2 separate regions of the Homo sapiens genome follow, and region 2 is linked to region 1. The links are contacts of gene promoters, found by promoter capture Hi-C in blood cells and fetal thymus (Javierre and others, 2016). All regions are on one chromosome and are shown on one strand. The core of a region is centred on a gene start or on the middle of the fragment in contact, and the rest is flanking DNA. Distances in the headings are between cores, read along the strand shown. Region 1 holds the start of REX1BD (required for excision 1-B domain containing). Region 2 overlaps CERS1 (ceramide synthase 1).

Region 1 (5,814 bases), core at 536-3,035:
CCCTAAACCAGCCTGCCGGCCCATACCCGGACGTTGACACCCAAACCACCTCTCACGAGGAAACCTCAGCTACAGAACCCCTTCTATGCCCCTATTCAGCAGGAAGCAATTAGAGTGGTCATCCTCCCACACCCCAACAGCAGTTGGGCTCTCCTGTTGAGAGAGGGGACTGAGGGGTGGAGTTGGCAGGATTTACTGGGCAGGTTTGGGGACTTTCACAGAAGACCCCTGTGACTCAGTGTTTTGAGTTCTTAACCAATCGAGTGAAGGATTCAGAATTAACCACTCCAGGCCGGGCGCGGTGGCTCACGCCTGTAATCCCAGCACTTTGGGAGGCCGAGGCGGGCGGATCACGAGGTCAGGAGATTGAGACCATCCTGGCTAACCCGGTGAAACCCTGCCTCTACTAAAAATACAAAAAATTGGCCGGGTGTGGTGGCGGGCGCCTGTGGTCCCAGCTACTGGGGAGGCTGAGGCAGGAGAATGGCGTGAACCCGGGAGGCAGAGCTTGAAGTGAGCCGAGATCGTGCCATTGCACTGCAGCCTGGGCGACAGAGCGAGACTCTGTCTCACTAAAAAAAAAAAAAAAAAAAAACAAAAAAAAAAAACACTCCAGAGGAGGATTGAAAAAAGAACCACTCTCAATGGACAAAAAGAAAGGGGAGGGGTAACATAGGGATATGAGCCCTAGCCACCGGAGCCAGCAACGGCAACCCTTCCGGGTCCCCTTCCAGCATGTGGAAGCTTTCCTTTCGCTTTGTTCAATAAACTGCCCTGCTGCTCACTCTCCTGGTCCGTGGACTCTTTTTGATCTGTAACACACACCGCGAAGGTCCACAGCTTCATTCTTCAAAGTTAGCGAGACCACGAACCCATCGGCAAGAAAAACTCCCAACTCACTAACAGCCTAGTCCCTTCCCCCTTAAAGGCTGGTGTCTGTCACCCCATACCTGAGCTGGTCCCTCTTCACTAAGTCAGGCTACCAGCATCTTCCTGCTCCTCCGGCTGGGCCCCTGGAGGAGGAAGCTTTCCAAAGCTCTGTCTAGCCCATGTATCCCTCCAGCAGGAAGCTCCAAGGCCTCCTCTGTACTTTGAGGTCGTTCTGGCCCCTGCTATGCTCCAGGCTCAGGGCTATTACACAAGACACCCAATTCAACTCGGTGGGCTGTTGACACCGTCCCTGTCACTGAATCTTGTCTTCACCCCTGTGATTCTCTGAAGAGCCAGTGAATCTCTGTTAATGTTGGTGGAGTTCCAGCCACTGCACTTTTTTTGAGGCAGACTCACTGTGGCTCCGGCTGGAGTGCAGTGGCATGGTCATAGCTCATGGCAGCCCCCAACTCCCGGGCTCATGTAATCCTCCCACCTCAGCCTCCCGAGTAGCTGGGACTGGAGGCGGGAGCCACCATGTCGGGCTAATTGGTTTTTCTGTAGAGATCGGGCCTCCCTAGGTTGCCCAGGCTTACTTAACACTCTTGAACGTCAAAACCCACGCTCAGTACCCGCTTCAAGTGGAAGTCGGTGTTGAGATACAAGCATAGGAACGAACTCAAGGCTAACAGCTGTTCTGTATTCAGAGCCGCACAATCAAGGAAAAACACGATCGGAGGCGGGCCCTGGACGGGAACAAGAAGGGTGGGCTTGACTGGGCGGCCCGCGGTCTTGGTTCCCCTTTCTTCCTTCTGGCTGGCCGGCCGCAGGGTAGGGGGTCCGTGGACCTCCCGGCCTGTAGGGGGCGTCGGGCGCAGCGGAAGGGCCTGCTCCGGAGCCTGGCCAGGGCTGCGCAGTCATGATCACCGAGACCGCGGCGGAGCCTACGGTCCCTGCAGTGCCTGCTGCTGAGGAGGCCACCGAAGCTCGGGGACGCGAGGAGCCGGCGTGGCCCTGGGTGAGCCCAGGCCCAAGCGGGAACGGGCGCGGGGCGGGCGGCGCAGACCCAGGGGCGCGGGCTTCATGCCCCAGCCGTGCCCCCTGTCCCGCAGAAAGACGCCCCGATCCGGACGCTGGTGCAGCGCATCCACCAGCTGCAGGCTGAGCGCGCGCAGGGCTTCCGCCGACTGGAGGAGTGAGTGGGGGCGCGGAGGGGCTCAGGGTTCGGTCCCCCGCCCGCTCCGGGCGTGGGCGTGTTCTCGGCGGGCGTGCCTGGAGGAGGAGCTGGGTCCTTGTGTGGCTGCAGAGTCAGATGGGGCGGGGATTTCGGGGCACCGGGTCCTCACCTTCACGAAAAAGGCCCCACAGCACGTCCCCACTACCCGACGACTCACTCTTCGTGGCTTCTCTCTCCTCCCCAAGAGCAGGGGTGGGCCTGTCTCGCGTTCCCCTGCGGGAGTCAGGAAGCGTCCTTCCTACCTACCAGTCCTCCCCTCTGGTGTCTGGGGACACTTCCTGGGGGCCTTTCAGGTGGTTGGCGCCGGTGCAGGGCCTGAGAGCCTGGGGGCGCGGCCTCAGGGTCCCCACATGCCGCAGAGGCCACCGCCAGTACCTGCGCAGCGGCCCTGACTACGACTTCGCGCGCTACCGGAGCACAGTGCACGGGGTGACCCAGGCCTTCGCCGCCGCCTCGCGGGAGGTGCTGGCGGTGGAAGCAGAGCTGGGCGGGCCTCGCAGGCAGCCGCTGCTCGCCGGCCACGTGCGCAGCCTGCAGGAGCTGGAGCAGACGCGGCTGGGCACGGTGAGGCCACCACCCCTTCCCCGCCGTGTCTCTAGGACCCTGGCCGGCTCCTCTCATGACGCACCCCTGGTTGGGGGGTGGTCCCAGTATCCCATACACAGACCTCACCCCTTCCTGTCCCACCCCAATCCTCTATTAAGGCTTCACTTGGGGATTCTCGGACCTTGCCCTCTGCTGTTCATCCCCAATTTTTTTCCCAAGTTTTGTCCTTATTCCCAGAGCACTCCCGCTTTCTCCCAGCTCCGCCTAAATGCTATTCCAAGATGCCCAGATCCCGCCCCAACAATGCTCCACCCACTCTGGTTGTTCCGCGTCTAGGGTCCCACCCTCAACCTCCCGTAGATACAGGCGAGGGGGGTCCCAGGCCACGCCTCCTCCGTATTATTCCTCCATCACAGCTTTAGTTCTTTGCCTATTTCTCTCTTGCGATCCGCCTGCTCGGCCCTGCAACCGTGTGTGACTGGAATTCCTAGGCCACGCCCCCCATGAGCGACCCGTCTCAGCGTCTCTTTGGCCTTTTTCTTTCTGGTGTTTTTTTTTTTTTTTTTTTTTTTTAAGACAGGCTCTTGCTCTCTTGCTCTCTCACCCAGGCTAGAGTGCAATGGCGCGATCTCGGCTAACGGCAACCTCCGCCTCCCAGATTCAAGCGATTCTCCTGCCTCAGCCTCCTGAGTAGCTGGGATTACAGGCATAATTTTTGTATTTTGTATTTTTTTTAGTAGAGACGGGGTTGTGCCATATGGGCAAGGCTGGTCTCGAACTCCTGGTCTCAAGCGATCCGCCCTCTTCTGCTTCCCGAAGTGCTGGGATTTCAGGCGTGAGCCACCGCGTCCAGGCTTTTTGGCCTACTTTTATCCTGGGTCCCCGTCCCTGGGACCATGAGGCGCAACCTAACCCACCCCTACGGCCAATGCCTGGCTAAGACGTCACTGTTGTTCCCAGGCCACGCCCACATCGCGCTCAGCACTGCCTCTGGCCTGCCTGCTGTCTCCTTTCTGAGAGAGCCTCTAAACTGAATTTCGGACTCTTCCTACACAAAGCACTGCCCCTCGTGGTTCTACCCGGGCACTGCCTTTCTGGGTGCCTCTGTTTTTTCCTGAACATCCTTGGAGGGCAGGGGGTGGGTTCTGCTCGTGGAGACATCCTTCGTGTTGCTCATTCCCCCACCAGGTGGCCCTGCTGCAGTTGATGGAGACGCCAGAGCTGGCGGGGCAGGAGGACGCTGTACGGATGCAGCAGCTGAAAATGAAGTGAGCGCTGCTGCCCAAGCCGCCTGGCTATGCTCGATTTGCACCAGGGTTGGCACGGTCAGGACGCTGCCAGCAGAGGAACCCTCTGCCAGTGCACAATGGTGTTCTCACCTGGTGGCCCTCAGATGTACACTTCCCCAGAGGGCACAGCCGTGAAACTTCACATCAGTTTCGCTGTGCATTGCTGGGACACTGCTGTATACCTCGACACATGCCAATCCTGCACACGTGGCTGTCCGTGGAGCTTGGACATGCCCCACTGAGCACAGACCTTCAGATGCCTGTCCTCAGCCCCCAAGCACACACACTCATGTACACACACATTTGACAAAGTCACACTTCATAACCTCCTAATGGTACACACCCCACCAAGATGGCCTTTTCTTTTCTTTTTTTTCTGAGATGCAGTCTCACTCTGTCACCAGGCTGGAGTGCAGTGGCGCGATCTCAGCTCACTGCAACCTCCGCCTCCCGGGTTCAAGTGATTCCCCTGCCTCAGCCTCCTGAGTAGCTGGGACTACAGGCGCGTGCCACCACGCCCAGCTAATTTTTTGTATTTTAGTAGAGATGGGTTTCACCATGTTGGCCAGGATGGTCTCGATCTCCTGACCTCGTGATCTGCCCACCTCAGCCTCCCAAAGTGCTGGGATTACAGGCGTAAGCCAGCACGCCTGGTCCTTTATTTTCTTTTCTTTTTTCTTTCTTTTTTTTGAGATAGAGTCTTGCTCTGTCACCCAGGCTGGAGTGCAGTGGTGCGGTCTTGGCTTACCGTAACCTCTGCCTCCTAAGTAGCTTGGATTACAGATGCCCGCCACCATGCCTGGCTAATTCTTGTATTTTTAGTAGAGACGGGGATTCGCCATGTTGGCCAGGCTTGTTTTGAACTCCTGACCTCAGGTGATCTGCCTGCCTCAGCTTCCCAAAGTGCTGGATTACAGGCGTGAGCCACCATGCCCAGCCCAGATGGCCTTTTCTCTCAGCCCACTGTGACCTATGGGGCCACCCCTTCTCCCTAGCACCTAAGTGTTCCCTCTTGCTGCTAGTGCTGCCTGGAGGTTTGGCGGCGGGCAGGAGGGCCTGGGGCTCACCACAGCCACAGCCCTCTTGCAGCTTCGCGGCAGCAGCTAATTCACCCCATCTGGGTTTTATTTATAGTTCCCATCCGCTCTTGTAGGGTAATTAAAACCATGGAGGCGATCAGCGAGGTTCTCCAGGACCTTAGGTTTGATGCGGAATCTGCCGAGTGATGGCGGCTCCCCAGGGATGCGCCGAGGGAGATGGGAAACGGGGCGGATGGCGCCCAGCCCAGCCCTAACTGCCAGCTGGCTGGGGTTGCGCCCCACTGCGCTGCTGACCTTCCTGCAGTTCCAGACACCTCCCACAATAAAGAGCTCCTCCTCTGTAGCCGCTCTGCCATCTCTGTGTACAAGGGTGCTGCAGCCAGTGTGCCTAGGGAGGGGGCCCCCACAGGGCCAGGGATTGTGGGTAGAAGACTCCCACCCTCCCTAGAAACTGAGGTTTTTTTGCTTGAGACAGGGTCTTGCTGTGTCACCCAGACTGGAGTGCAGTGGCGAGATCGTGGCTCACTGCAGCCTTGACTTCCCCAGGCTCAAGCAGTCCTCCTGCCTCAGCCTCCCAAGTAGCTGGGACTACAGGCACATGCCACCACAAGCCCAGTTAATTTTTTTTTTTTTTGAGATAGAGTTTTGCTCTTTTTGCCCAGGCTGGAGTACAATGGTACGATCTCGGCTCACTGCAATCTGCACCTCCTGGGTTCAAGTGATTCGCCTGCCTCAGCCTCCTGAGTAGTTGGGATCACAGGCATGCACCACCACGCCCAGCTAATTTTGTATTTTTAGTAGAGACGGGGTTTCTCCATGTTGGTCAGGCTGG
Region 2 (5,327 bases), core at 512-3,011, 290 kb after region 1:
TCACCCAGGGCTGGTGAGGCTCGTGGGCTATCTCCTTCCCCAGGACTCCCACCTGGGCTGGACTGAGTCTGAGCTCCCAGCCCCAGCTCCTGTTTGGCCGGGCAGTGGGCTCCCCTGTCAAACTCAGAGGCCAGGATGTCTCGGCCCAGATGGAGCCTGGGTTCTCTCTGTGGCCCTTGGCGTTCCTTCCTCCCCAGCCCCACTGCCACCAGCTCCAGTGGCGACATGGGTCAGAGGTCGTCATCCAGGCTGGCCAGCAACTACTCCTCACCACCCACAGGGCCCTGGCTCGCCACTCCCGCCACACCAGCCACTAGGCCTGGCCCTCAGTGTCCCTACCGCTGAGACCCTGCCTGTCGCCCTGCCTGCCCCTCCCCAGCCTCTCCCTCCCCTTCCTCACTGTCCTGTCCTTCAGGGTACTGGCCACATCGTCCACGCCTTTATTGCAGTCTCTGTTTTGGAGTAGGCTTGGGGGGCAGCATCCGCGTCGGCCTCATCTGCTGCTGGGTCTTGGGGGCCTGCCCACGAACACGCTTGGACGGGTGACACTAAAGGAGGGAACGCGGGGTGCGGGCCCCTCCACACTCACTCGGCTTTGCTGGGCTTCAGGCTCTGGGCCTCGGCTGTGTCATACTCCCGCAGGTCCTTCAGCTCGTGCACCTGGCCTGTCAACACCTTGGCTGCAAACGCCACGATGTACTGCGAGAGGGGAGGGGAGGTGCCAGTGAGAAGAAAGCCCCCACGCCACTGCCCTGCTGACAGCCATGTGCTCCTGTCCCGGGCCCTCCACACGGGCTGTCTGCCACCTAACGTGCCCCTCCCCGGGACTGCCTGAGGAGGGGACAGGGATTGGGACGAGGACGGGACCGCCACTGTGGAGGAGAGCCGGGGCCGACTCACCAGGAACCAGTAGAGGTTCATAAGGGTGAGCAGCAGCAGGAGCGCATTGAAGAAGAAGTAGAAGGGGATGTCAGGCACCGTGCGCAGACTGCAGTGACTGGTGGCATACAGGACCTTGAGCGGGAACCAGTAGAGGCGGAACCAGAACCTGCGGTGGGAGGAGTCAGGAGGCCGTGGGTGGAGGGGGACGGTGCCCTACCCAGTCCCTGTCCTATCCCGTCCTAGACCCACCCTTGCCCCCTTATCCCATCCTTGCCCACCTCTGCCCACCTGTTTCTACTACTGCTCTGTCCTTCCCCTCCCCTGCCATGCCCCGCCCACCTCGCCAAGGCCCCACATCCTTCCCCGCCTGGCCCCCCACTTCCCTGCCAGGCCTCACCCACCTCGCCAAGGCCCCACCTCCTCCCCTTCCCAGTCCCTCCCCTTCTCTGCTAGGCCCCACCTACCTCACCAAACCCCACCTCCTTCCCTGCCCAGTCCCTCCCCTTTCCTGCCAGGCCCCACCCACCTCACCAAGGCCCCACCTCCTTCCCTGCCCAGTCCCTCCCCTTCTCTGCCAGGCCCCGCCCACCTCACCAAGCCCCCACCTCCTTCCCTGCACAGCGCCTCCCTTTCTCTGCCAGGTCTTCCCCACCACACCAAAGCCCTACCTCTTTCTCTGCCTAGCCCTACCCCAACCCTGCTTGGCCCCACCCCTGGCTTGCTCTGTATTAGTCTAGCTCTTCCCCTTCCATGCCTGGCCCAACCTATCTCACCAGGCCCCTCCCCTTCCTGGATCCACCCACCTCACCTGGCTTATCCTTTTCTGCCCAGCCCCACTCCTAGCTCAGTTGGCCCCACCCTTGTCCTACTCCTTTCCTGTATAGCCCCGCCCCTTCAGTCCCACCCAAATCATGAGGCCCCTCCCCTGTCATGCCACACACCCACCTCACCGGGCCCCGCCTCCTTCCCTGCCTGGTCCCGCCCCTTTTCTGGACACACCCACCTCACCAGGCCACACCTCCCTCCCTGCCCAGCACTCCCTACCACTCACCAGCTGAAGCCGAAGCTGAGGCAGCCCAAGTCTGCTGCCAAGGCATGCAGCCGATGGTAGGAGCCGCCGCGGGACTTGAAGTAAATGTTGAGCTTGGTGAACTCAAGCTGCACGTCACTGATATCGTGCAGGAAGAGCACAAGGATGCCCACATTGTGGTACCTGGGGGAGCAGCAGGCAGAGAGGAGAGGGCAGCTCACATTGGGGGACCTCCACTCTGCACTAAGGCCCCCAGCAGAGTCCCTGGGCTACACCTCAGGCTCCCCGTGGGCCTCTTCAAAGCCACCCTTCCTGCCTCGCCTGCCCTGCCCATCTCCACTTCCCAGGATGCCCTTTCCTCACTGTCCCCCACTTAGCCGTGCACCCCCAACCAGACCCTCATCTTCCCTGCCTCAGTGTCCCCATGTGGCCCAGGGAGCTCCCTGGAAGTTTATTTTTCTTTTGAGACAGGGTCTTGCTCTGTGGCCCAGGCTGGGGTGCAGTGGTGTGATCGGGCCCACTGCAGCCTCAAACTCCTAGGCTCAAGTGATCCTCCCACCTCAGCCCCCGGAGAAGCTGGGACTACAGGAAAGCAACACCACACACGGCTAATTTTTTTAATTTTTAGTAGAGACTGGGTCTTGCTATGTTGCCCAGAATGGCCTCAAACTCCTGGGCTCAAGCGATCTTCTCACCTTGGCCTCCCAAAGTGCTGGGATTACAGGCGCGAGCCACTGTGCCCGGTCTTGGAAGTTCCTTGCTGGCCCCTCCTCATCTTGGTGACCTCTGACCCTCTATGACCCCCGACTCTCACAGGCCTGGGGTACTCTGTGTCCAGATCCTCCATGAGCTTGTCCCTCACTTTGGACACCACCACCATGATGAGACTTCCAGGTCTGTACGTGCAGCCTGGCCATCGCTGCAGGAAAGGCCTCTGCCGCAGCCCATCAGGATCCTTTTTTTTTTTAATTTTTTTTTTTTTTTGAGACAGAGTCTTGCTCTTGTTGCCCAGGCTGGAGCGCAATGGCACGATCTCAGCTCACCGCAACCTCCACCTCCCGGGTTCAAGCAATTCTCCTGCCTCAGCCTTCCCAAGTAGCTGGCATTACAGGTATGTGCCACCACGCCCAGTTAATTTTGTATTTTTAGTAGAGACGGGGTTTCACCATGTTGGTCCCGCTGATCTCGAATTCCCAACCTCATGTGACCCACCCGCCTTGGCCTCCCGAAGTGCTGGGATTACAGGTGTGAGCCACCGTGCCCGGCCCCATTAGGATCTTAATAAGCCCGAAGGCCATCCCCTGTCCTTCCACAGAGTCTCCATCTGACAGATGAGCTGCCCGAGGGTCCTGGATTCACCCTGGACGTGGGGAAGTGTCTCTCACCAAGTCCCTGTTCCTTGCTCTGTCTCCTGACAGCTCCTGGGCTCCTGCCACAGGTCCTTTGCACGTGCTGTCCCCATGACCCAGCATGCCAGTGCCTGGCATTCAGCACCTCCCTTCACTCCTTTCAGTCTCTGCTCATCTGCTCATCTGTCACCCCCAGACCAACTAACACCTAACACCTGCAGCCACAATTTTTTTTTGGAGACACAGCCTCACTCTGTTGCCCAGGCTGGAATGCCTCGGCTCACAGCCACCTCTGCCTCCCGGGTTCAAGCGATTCTCCCACCTCAGCCTCTTGAGTAGCTTGGACTACAGGCACTCATCACCATGCCCAGCTAATTTTTTTATTTTTAGCAGACACAGGGTTTCACCATGTTGGCCAGGCTGTTCTCAAACTCCTGACCTCAGGTGATCCACCCACCTCGGCCTCCCAAAGTGCTGGGATTACAGGCATGAGCCACTGCACCTGGCCTTTTCTCCATAATTCTTATCACCTTCAAATGAACTGTTCCTTCCTTCCTTTTTGGTTCTATCATCTGATTCTGCCCTCTAGAGAGCCTTGAATTATAGAACTTTCTAGAACTATGGGAATGTTCTAAACCTGTACTGTCCAACATGGGAGCCACCAGCCACTTGTGGCCACTGAGCCCTTGAACTGTGGCTTGTGTGGCTGAGGAATGGAATAGGGGCTTTTTAAAATTATTTTTTAAACTAACCAGACGTGGTGGCTCACACCTGTAATCCCAGCACTTTGGGAGGCCGAGGCAGGTGGATCACTTGAGGTCAGGAGTTCGAGTCCAGCCTGGCCAACATGGTGAAACCCCATCTCTACTAAAAATATAATAATTAGCCGGTGTGATGTCATACCCCTGTAATCCCAGCTACTTGGGAGGCTGAGGCGAGGCGGGAGGATTGCTTGAACCTGGGAGCCGGAGGTTGCAGTAAGCCAATGTCATGGCACTGCACTCCAGCCTGGGCGACAGAGCGAGACTCTGTCTCAAAAAAATAAGTAAGTAAATAAATAAGATAAAGTAATTTTAAAAATGTATTTATGTACGTGTTTGTTTATTTTTGAGACGGAGTCTCGCTCTGTCGCCCAGGCTGGAGTGCAGTGGCATGATCTCGGCTCACTGCAACCTCCGCCTCCCGGGTTCATGCCATTCTCCTGTCTCAGCCTCCTGAGTAGCTGGGACTACAGGCGCCCACCACCACGCCCAGCTAATTTTTGTATTTTTAGTAGAGACACGGTTTCACTGTGTTAGCCAGGATGGTCTCGATCTCCTGACCTCATGATCCGCTCGCCTCGGCCTCGCAAAGTGGTGGGATTACAGGCGTGAGCCACCGCACTCAGCCTAAAAATTTATTTATTAGAGACAGGGTCTCCCTACGTTGCCTAGGTTGAACTCAAACTTCTGGGTTCAAGCAATCCTCCTGACTCAGCCTTCTAAGTAGCTGGGGGACTACAGGCATGAGCTACTGCTCCTGGAGTTTTATTTAAGTCTAATTAAAGTTGAAAGGGCCACCTCTTTGTTGCTCTATATTTGTGGGGCGTGGCTACCCTATTATCGCAGCTAGAGCAGCTAGTCCCGTAGGAATAGTATATGAGCAGTGTATTTCATTTTAAAGTTTCTATTGGCCACATTTAACAAGAAAGAGAAAAGAACAGGTAATATTAATTTTAATAATGCATTCTAATTAATTCAGTATATCCAAAATATTGTCATTTCAATATGGAGTCGAGATAACAAGGCCAGGCGTGGTGGCGCACACCTGTAATCCCCACACTTCGGGGAGCTGAGGTGGGAGGATCACTTGAGCCCAGGAGGTCCAGGCTGCAGTGAGCAATGGTCACGCCACTGCACTCCAGCCTGGGTGACAGAGTGAGACCTTGTCTCAAAAAAAAAAGAGAGAGAGAAATAAAAGGGTGGATAAGATATTTTCACTCGTTTGTATGTGAAGGCTTTGAAGCCGGGTGGGTTTTATGCACACAGCATGGTGAGGTTTGGACAGACTCCATCTGAAAGGCTCAC

Evidence for each region. Contacts are between HindIII fragments. The CHiCAGO score rates a contact against its expected background, and 5 or more counts as called.
Region 2: a fragment that was not itself captured here is called in contact with the fragment with the promoter of REX1BD in region 1 in 3 of 17 cell types (endothelial precursors, total CD8 T cells and naive B cells); the score reaches 5.9 in endothelial precursors.

The regions. Positions count from the first base shown.
Region 1 is chr19:18,587,013-18,592,826 of GRCh38, forward strand. It overlaps REX1BD (required for excision 1-B domain containing), which reads left to right and starts at 1,786. Exons shown (of 5, transcript NM_001100418.2): 1 at 1,786-1,888; 2 at 1,983-2,065; 3 at 2,401-2,671; 4 at 3,842-3,921; 5 at 5,096-5,325. The coding sequence starts at 1,790. The coding sequence ends at 5,168. RefSeq lists a silencer at 1,614-2,133 and an enhancer at 4,637-5,160. The HindIII fragment of the contact is 10,738 bases long and covers 1,025-5,814 here.
Region 2 is chr19:18,878,341-18,883,667 of GRCh38, forward strand. CERS1 (ceramide synthase 1) reads right to left here. Exons shown (of 8, transcript NM_021267.5): 4 at 1,934-2,095; 5 at 901-1,048; 6 at 590-699. It overlaps GDF1 (growth differentiation factor 1), which reads right to left. Exons shown (of 8, transcript NM_001492.6): 4 at 1,934-2,095; 5 at 901-1,048; 6 at 590-699. Among named protein-coding and RNA genes, the nearest start is that of CERS1, 15 kb to the right of the region's middle. RefSeq lists a silencer at 1,862-1,911. The HindIII fragment of the contact is 8,205 bases long and covers 1-5,327 here.